Regions from separate parts of the Homo sapiens genome. Here all the other regions are linked to region 3. The links are contacts of gene promoters, found by promoter capture Hi-C in blood cells and fetal thymus (Javierre and others, 2016). All regions are on one chromosome and are shown on one strand. The core of a region is centred on a gene start or on the middle of the fragment in contact, and the rest is flanking DNA. Distances in the headings are between cores, read along the strand shown.

What was found. The method cuts DNA at HindIII sites, captures the fragments that hold promoters and counts their contacts. A CHiCAGO score of 5 or more calls a contact.
Region 1: a contact is called between a fragment that was not itself captured here and the fragment with the promoter of SNRNP200 in region 3, in 1 of 17 cell types (total CD8 T cells). The highest score is 7.1, in total CD8 T cells.
Region 2: a fragment that was not itself captured here is called in contact with the fragment with the promoter of SNRNP200 in region 3 in 1 of 17 cell types (total CD4 T cells); the score reaches 5.9 in total CD4 T cells.

What each region holds. Positions count from the first base shown.
Region 1 is chr2:96,596,961-96,599,729 of GRCh38, forward strand. All of the region lies in intron 20 of KANSL3 (KAT8 regulatory NSL complex subunit 3), which reads right to left. Among named protein-coding and RNA genes, the nearest start is that of KANSL3, 40 kb to the right of the region's middle. The HindIII fragment of the contact is 1,892 bases long and covers 536-2,427 here.
Region 2 is chr2:96,569,517-96,572,731 of GRCh38, forward strand. No RefSeq gene overlaps it. Among named protein-coding and RNA genes, the nearest start is that of ARID5A, 34 kb to the left of the region's middle. The HindIII fragment of the contact is 1,560 bases long and covers 949-2,508 here.
Region 3 is chr2:96,303,736-96,306,867 of GRCh38, forward strand. It overlaps SNRNP200 (small nuclear ribonucleoprotein U5 subunit 200), which reads right to left and starts at 1,811. Exons shown (of 45, transcript NM_014014.5): 1 at 1,658-1,811; 2 at 970-1,133. The coding sequence starts at 1,702. RefSeq lists enhancers at 1,676-1,970, 2,220-2,299, 2,892-3,132. The HindIII fragment of the contact is 15,934 bases long and covers 1,158-3,132 here.

The sequences.
Region 1 (2,769 bases), core at 232-2,731, 290 kb after region 3:
GTGATGAGTACACAATAGTCCATTCCCATGAAGGAAACACATAGTAAACACCAATCAGTGCCAGAAACAAAACAGATAATTAAGTGCTTATACAGATCTTAGAGAAGTCTAGTTGGTGTTCACTTTTCTTTTTAAATTCATTCCATCCAAAAATATTGCAGTATGGAACCCCAAAATAAAAAATGACTGTTTTAAAATCCTAACAATACCATTATCACACATTAAAAAGGTTAACAATTCCGTAATATCAACAACTATCCAGTCAGTGTTAAAATTTCCAATTGCCTCATAAATGTCAAAAAAATGGGTAGTTTGTTTCTAAGCATTAAAAAACGTCGGTTTCCAAAGCCTGAGGAGATTCTGATCCTGCCACCACAACAGTCACTGAATTAAGTCAACTTCCTCTCTAAACCAGGTAAGAAAACCAAAGCCCAGAAGGATAGGTGATTTGCCCAGGATCACACAGCTGGCTGAAAACAGATGACCTGACCCATAGTCCAGTGCTCTGTCTGGCAATCTGAACAGAGCTATTAGAAGCTTCTGAATCAGCAAGAAGCCTTAATCTAATAACATCCCCTTGCTTGTTGGAAAAGAATCACCACCTGACTCCTCCTAGCAATTACATATCCACTTTATTTTATTTATTTATTTTATTTTTTTGAGACAGAGTCTGGCTCTGTTGCCCAGGCTGGAGTGCAATGGTACAATCTCAGCTCACTGCAACCTCCGCCTCCCAGGTTCAAGCAATACTCCTGCCTCAGCCTCCCAAGTAGCTGGGATTACAGGTGCACGCCACCACATCCAGCTAATTTTTGTATTTTTAGTAGAGATGGGGTTTCACCATTTTGGTCAAGATGGTTTCGATCTCTTGACCTCGTGATCCACCCGCCTAGGTCTCTCAAAGTGCTGGGATTACAGGCGTGAACCACCATGCCCAGCCTACGTCCATTCTATTAAGATGAAAACTAATCTCATGTTAACATCATCAGTTAGAAGGCCAGACCTTGATCTTTATTCTGTGCTTCAACTGAGCTCCAGAAAAGGGGGATTCTCAATGACCTCTACTCTCTTCTCAATGGTAACTGGCTGGCCCAGGCCATGGCAAGCTGAGACGGATTACCTAACACAGGAGGAAGGGATCACGTGGCAGGATCTGTGTTCTAGTTGTCCATCAACATGGCATCAGCAAACGAAGACACCCTAAAAACAGGCCCAAATGGCTTTGTAGGTCACTTCTATCAACCCATCAAGGAACTATCATTTCTGTACTATAAAACTGTTTTAGAGTATGAGAGGGGAAAAGCACTTCCCATCTCATTCTACAAGGATTGAATTACCCCTTTTACATAACTAGACAAAGGAAAGCACACACACAGAAGTAGGGGGTGGAGGGGAAGAAAACTATGGGCCAAAGCCTGAGGAGATTAATATAGACGCCAAAATCCTAAGTAAAATAAAAGCAAATAGAATAGACATGCTTTTCTTTTGAAATGCTTAGCTTCTTTCTTTTTTCATTTCGTTCTTTTGATAGGGTCTTGTTGCCTTTGTATGTATAATAAAAAGAATAGGACACACTGAAAAAGCCACTGCATCTAGAATTCACACAGTTTGATATTAGGAAACCTATTAAAGTAACTCATCATTTTAACTGATTAGAAGGAAACGTTGGCCGGACATGATGGCTCACGCCTGTAATCCCAACACTTTGGGAGGCCAAGGTGGGTGGATCACTTGAGGTCAGGAGTTCAAGACAAGCCTGGACAACATGGTGAAACCCTGTCTCTACTAAAAATAGAAAAATTAGCTGAGGGTGGTGGCATGAGCCTATAGTCCCAGCTACTCAGGAGGCTGAGGCAAGAGAATAGCTTGAACTTGGCAGGCAGAGGTTGCAGTGAGCTGAGATCGTGCCACTGCACTCCAGCCTGGGTGACAAGAGTGAGACTGTCTCAAAAAAAAAAAAAAAAAAAAAAAAAAAGGAAATGTTTATCCTCATTCATTTCATGTGATTCTAAAAGAATAATGGAAAAAATTCAAAACTATCATGAGAAAGGAAAAGAATGAAGATTATCTTAGCAAACTAGAAACAGAATTGACACTCCCTTAACTTCAAGATCCATACTATCAACCCATAACAGAAGGCCAGCGTAGGATAGACAAATTCAAAACTACAGAACAGGCCCATATGTGTTCAGTACTTTAGAATGTGACAGCAGTGGATTTTAGATGAGTGGAGGAATGATGAATGGACTCATCCTTACCTCACTTAACATACAAAAGTGAACTATAAGGAATTAAAGGAAACAAGCAAAAGCATTATAAGAAAACACAAAGAGAGAGTTTCAATATGGGATGACAGAAAAGTTCTGGAGATGGATGGTGGTGATGGCTGTACCACAATGTGAATGTGCTCAATGCTACTGAACTGTAAGCTTGAAACATGGCTAAAATGGTACATTGTATGTTATATATGTTTTACCACAATTCAAATTTTAAAAACAAAAAGGATTACTTTTATATTCTTGTGATAGGGCTAGCTTTCTTAAGGCATAAAACTTTGGAGCTATAAAGGAAAATATTTGAAGATTTTACTATATGAAACATTTAAATGGCTGTATGATCTAGAAATAAAAGTTAAAAGACTGACTGACATTCAATGAATGCTTCAATAGAAAGAAAAAAAAATATGAGCCACTGACAGGAATAACATATATGTAATTTGTGTAACAGATAAAGATTTAACATCTGAATATACAAAGCCACTATAATTCA
Region 2 (3,215 bases), core at 479-2,978, 270 kb after region 3:
AGAACAGGAATTAATGACATAGGACTGAATGAACTGATGGGGGATGGTTGTGGGTTTTGCTTGGACTATTGTTGTTTTAATGTTCTATTTTCTGAATACATAAAGAGCTCCTTTATCTTAAGCTATCTATAACTCATAACAATTTAGTAGACTATGTTCTTTAAAATGAACATTTGTGTATTGGTCCATTCTTACACTGCTATAAAGAACTATCTGAGACTGGGTAATTTATGAAGAAAAGAGGTTTAATTGACTCATAGTTTGGCAGACTGTACAGGACGCATGGCTAGGAGGCCTCAGGAAACTTACAATCATGGTGGAAGGCCAAGAGGAAGCAAGCATGTCTTACCATGGCGGCAGGAGAGAGAGAGAGTGATGGGGGAAGTGCCACACATTCTCAAACAAACACACCTTGTGAGAACTCACTCACTATCATGAGAACAGCAAGGGGGAAATCTGCCCTCATGATCCAATCATATCCCATCAGGCCCCTCTGCTGACATGTGGGAATTACAATTTGACATGAAATTTAGGTGGGGACACAGAGCCAAACCATATCAATTTGCAAATGGTGTATTTTTCTTACTGCCTGATCCTTCCAGAATTTGGAGTATTCTTAATTTCATTGCAATATAATTATTTGCACAGGTTCAATAAGAATCTGTCCTCCTTGTTTACGGGACAGAATTAGAAACATTGGTTATGCAACAAAGGCCTTTAAATCTTTTGTCATCTACAGATAGTTTTTTTCTTTTACTCTGGTGCCTCCCCGAATGTCATGTTTGAGAATGATGCTCATTTAATCAGCTATGACCAGATACTTTAAAGAACTAAGGTTGACTTTTTGGAGCCAATGTTTACAAAATGCTCTTGGGAAAACTGGCACTGGAGTACATGGTTTCAGCCTTACAGGTGAGTAAGAAAGGTCACTTCCTGACAGTACCAGGAAGCTTAGGATATTCTGGAGACTCAAGAAAAGAGGAATTTGTCCAAATTTATAGGTACTGCATTTAAAGTATGATGGCAAGTTCTTAGCTTGGCTTCCTAGCCTCAAGAGAATTTTAAAAGCTCAGTCTGAAAGTCCTGATGAAAACTTTCAACAAAGTAAACTTAAGAAGACCTGTGTGGCAAATTACCATTCTTACTCTACCTATGTGAGTAATCAGACAAGTCTAATGAGACCAGCCTTATTTTGTGATCAAGTGTTGATCAAGAATAATAGTTTTTTGTTTGTTTCTTTGTTTGTTTTTTTGAGACAGTCTCACTCTGTTGCCCAGGCTGGAGTGCAGTGGCATGATCTTGGCTCACTGCAACCTCTAGCTCCTGGGTTCAAACGATTCTCGTGCCTCAGCCTCCTGAGTAGCTGGGACTACAGGCACATGCCACCACGCCCAGCTAATTTTTTTTTTTTTTTGTATTGTATTTTTAGTAGACATGAGGTTTCACCATGTTGGCCAGGCTGGTCTCGAACTCCTGACCTAAAGTGATCCGCTTGCCTCAGCCTCCCAGAGTGCTGGGATTACAGAAGTGAGCCTCCGCGCCAAGAATAACAGTTCTTTGAGATTATTTTTTATCAAGATGGAAGTGACTGTAGAGAGGAATTTTGTGTTTCAATGGAAATCTATGCACACCCATCTGGGTTATCAGATTCTGGCTCTGGTCATTGCTGTTCATTTTTTTATAAATCACAGGTAACTGATGGATATGCAAACTGTTTTGTATGGTAAAGATTTAACTGACTTCCTTTCACCCTATGGAAAAAACAATTTTAGTACTTACCTGCAAATTGGACTGGATGCTGTCACCTTGCCTAAATTGTGGATTCTTATCAAATTTTCAATTCTTCCAGATGTCATCATTATCTGGCTATGGTTATCCAAACTAACATTTTTAATTTTCCTACCTCCTGCCTGACTCAGCATCACCAGGAACTGAATGAAGGCTCACCATCTAGATTCTACGTCAGGATTCCAGGTACCCTTGCACTGGCTCTTTGTCCAGGATCTGCAGAACCCCCTATAACCTACAGCCCAAAGACTTGATATAAACCTCAAAGGACTCATCACCATGGCAGACCATGCAGGGGCTGAATTCTCCCTGCACAGGCCACTGTCTGGACTACTAAGGAAGACCAGTAAAATGCTTGTATATGCATGTCTCTATATGAGCAAGAACCAAGACTGACCAACACCAAGAGCATCACCATCCTAGCTTGAGCTTCAAGAAACTCAAGAAGCACTGCTGCAAAACCAAAAGGTTTTCTTCCATTGACCACTTGGAATCCAGTAAACAGGTTACCCTCAGGCTCTGTACTTCAATTCAACCATTGATATGAATATTTCTCTTTTACATTTCAGTCATGCTTCTTTAAAGATGCCAGATTTCTAGCACTCTAAAACAACTGATCTTTGCCACCACCTTTCATCAGATGGCTCAACTGACTCTGCAAAACCACCACCAACAAGAGCCCTTGGGAGGCCATTTCTTATACCTGCTTTGCCCCTCTAAAGCTTTGCGATCACCTCTTAGTTGTTCAGTAATGAATGATATTCACGAAAAAAGAAGGGACTGACAACAGTAAACTCTGCCTGAGCCTCATATGCCTAAAAACAGCAACAGTTAAGAAATTTCCCTATCTTTTTGTGGCTCAGGAAATGGCTAACTGCAAAGTTCTGCCCTGCTCTGGCATATGCCAAGATAAGACCCATCTCCATCCTTCTGCATGACTTCCATAAGATTTACAGAAGATACAGATGGCTCCCTTGTCTAAGTGCCCCCATAAAACCCTAGGTCTCCCCGCTCTTCTTTGAGACTGTCTTCATTGCTCAATATTCTTCCTATTAATTAAGCATTCCTCCTTAATTATCCACTGCATTTTGTCTTTCATGCCAGCTTTCTACATCTTAGGTAGAAGAGGAACCCTAGTTTTGTTTTTAATATGGAGAAGATGTAAACATTTTTCTAGGCCAAGGTGAGAAACATCAGTAAAGAGGGGAAAAGAGGAAAAGTATAGGTGAGAGGAGAGAACGGAATTACTTATACACTCAACAAATGTTGAGTGTCATACCAGCTACTAAGATCAATACAAATGTAAATAATATATAATTTCTTCCCTTAAAGAGCCTACAGCCAAGGAAGGCAATGTGGCATGAACATAAACAACTATAATACAAAGCCATATGTGCTGAGTGTTAGGTTAACAATATCATTATCTT
Region 3 (3,132 bases), core at 561-3,060:
AAAAATTAGCCGGGCACAGTGGCGAGCGCCTGTAATCCCAGCTACTCAGGAGGCTGAGGCAGGAGAATCGCTTGAACCCGGGAGGTGGAGGTTGCCGTGAGAGAGATCACGCCACTGCACTCCAGCCTGGGTGACAGAGTGAGATTCCGTCTCAAAAAAAAAAAAAAAAAAAGTACAACCCTTCATACATTGTATGAGACTATTATATAATAGGATTTTGACTAGTTTTTCACCTCTCCAATGCATTTTCCCTTTCTAGCTAGAGAACCAAGCTCTAACAGAATCTACTGCCGTTGACTATCAACAAAGTATAACAAAACTGGAAAAGAAGATATAGCACAAAGTGGAGATAATGTATTAACTCATTTCAAACATAACTACTTTAATCAAACTAAGCCTAGGAATTTTGGAAACTTCATCATAGGAAAGGGAGCAAGACACCAAGATATTCAGGATCAAAAGATAATGATGAGGTAAAGGTAAGTTTTTGAAACATATCCCCAAGAAATCTTAAAAAAAAAAAATAAAGGAAAAAAATGCAAACTAAGAAAGAAACCTGTCTTTCATACTATGGATGCTTAAATTAGTTTGTTACAACAAAATAGGTAGAACGTGGACAAGAGTAAATGGAAAAAGTAGGGGTAGGAAGTTAGTAATGGGAAAAAAGGAAAACGAATTACTGGGACATAGGAATAGCAAGGGTCTTGAAAATACCCTGAAGAAAATTAAGATCTGTCTATGGACCAGAAACACACATGTAAGAAAAAGGTACCAACAAGTTATTTTCCACTTGAGATGCACTTGTTAAGGCCAAAAAATCTTTAAACTCTCCTGGTCTGTTTTTACCTTCACTGAATTGTTTTAATGCCACTGATCTTACACCAAGCATTCCAGCAAAAATGCTGCTCGAATGTTAAAGGGAAGAGACTTTGGATCTGAAGGAAAAAATAGTATCCCCTTGGCACTCACTTGGCTCTTCTTTCCTCCTGCATCTGCGGTTTGGTCCGTTGAGCCTTGTCTCCCATACGGGTGCCCTCCAGCTTCCCAACAAGGGACAGCACCTCTCCTGTGGGTTCATCCCGGCGGGTCCGGTCAATGAGAGAACGGTCAGCTTGGAGCACAAGATTCGAGTTCTGAAAAGATCAAAACATTATTGAAGCTTTGACATGAGCAGGGCCAATTCCTACTATCATAGTTACCCCAGCTGATGGAAAAAATCGTAGTAACTAGTTGCTTATCATCACTAATCGTAATAAAAATATATTTTCCTTAAGAATTGCATAGTATAACGCTGTGCAGAAGCGTACAGCTGAATAAGTCTTATGCGCTGTCGAATCAGCTAAACAATTCTTGTTCCTAACAGCGCCCATCATAACCCACACCTGTGAAAAGTAGTGAGTGGGTTGGGAGTGACGTGTGGAAGGGGGAGGGCTTAGCGTTGAAGGTACTCGAGAAACTCCTCCTAGAGAGATCTTAGCGCTCCCCAGACCCCAGTAGGTTATTCACGTCATCGTATAACCCCCACCTTCACCCCGATTCCATTTCCCCTTCGTTTTCGTGGCTCTCCTGTAGGCCTTCAGACTGAAACTCCCTTTTTCAGCCTCCCCCTCCCCATTGGACTCCTGAGCCTGGAATCCTTCCCCAAGACCAAACGCACCGCCTTGTACTCGTATTGCAGACTACGGGCGGTTACATCCGCCATGGCCGCGGCTGCTCGGAGGCTTCAGACCACCACGCCTCCCTACCGCAAGCTGCAAACGGCCGCAGATCTCTGCTCCCGCCGCGCCGGAACGACGCAGGAAAGACGCACTGGGGAAGGAAAAGAAACGGGTTCCCTTCCGCTTCCGGGTCGCGCCCCAGAAGTGCGGGGCGGGGCGTGTCTGGGGCGTGTCCCTGCCGTGTGCGCGCGGCTTTCCGCACCCTTCTGAGCGGGATATGTGGGCCTGGTGCGTCTGGGTCCCCGAATCCCTAGACCCCCGCACTCTGGTTCTGGCCGCCCGCTGGCACTAAGGACCCAGGGCCCGTGCTCTCCCCGACCTCAGTCTCCAGCCCCCGGCACCCCTCACATCATAACGAATGCACGGCTGCTTAGCCCCTGTCCTGTCCCAAGACCTTTCCTTCCGGTTCCTTCCTCTTTGGCAACAGTCCCATGAGGTAGGCAGGAAAAGAGGGGCCGAAAACCCCATTTCCGTTTGAGGTAACTAAAGTACCCAGCGAGCAAGGTGACTTGCGCGTGTGTCTGTGTTTGTGTGTTTTAATGATTGGCGCCTTGCTTTGGGTTTCTCTTCTGTGTTCAACAATTGAAAAAGAAAGCTACTATCCCCCACCAATCCCACCTAAACCTGTGCCCCCAAGACCCTCGTTTTCACCCAGCTGAACGAACAGGGCCGGGGCCCCCATTTGCTCCCACTTGTCGGTAACATTCTATGGTAGGGCCCTCCCTGCCGCCCAGGGAAACCGGTGAAGGCAGGGCCAAATCCTTGGTGACTATGACTTAATTTCTTCCCCAGCTACAAAGTCTTCTCTGTCCCACATTCCCCACCACTTCTCGCCAGTAGAATGGCGCCTTATGGCTGAAGGTGACCTCCCTCCTCACTTAGAGCATGTTTGCTTTTGAGAAGATGAATGAACAGGAGGATGGGTGTTAAGCCAAAGGAATTCATCCTCAATAGCAGTCCCCTAGACCAGATTTGTTCTGTAGTGGTATCGTGTTTGGCTCACTGTTGGCTCCTTCTTTAAAAATTGGGATAATTTCATGCAAACTCTGGCTCTCCCCCATCAGTTGAGATACTAGAAAATCAGCCACATGACACCCACACTGCTGCATGGCATGACCTGCTGCTGGTCAGCAGCTGCCAAGGTCAGAGAATAGGCAAGTCCTTCCCACTGCTCCTGTTTTCTCATGCCTGCCCATCTCCTTATTTTTACTTGCCCAGCCCCTGTAGGCATGGAGTTTGCTGCTTTGGTGGGTGTTTGTTTTTTTTTTAATAACTCGTCTTCCCAAGGGACAGTCGAGTCCTCATGGCTCTGCTCCTCAGTGGCTGTGTGACTTTGAAGTAGCTAGCTACCTGGCCTCTCGGTGAGCACCATTTTCCTCATCCTTAAAATTGAGGCAATTGGCTGGACACGCTG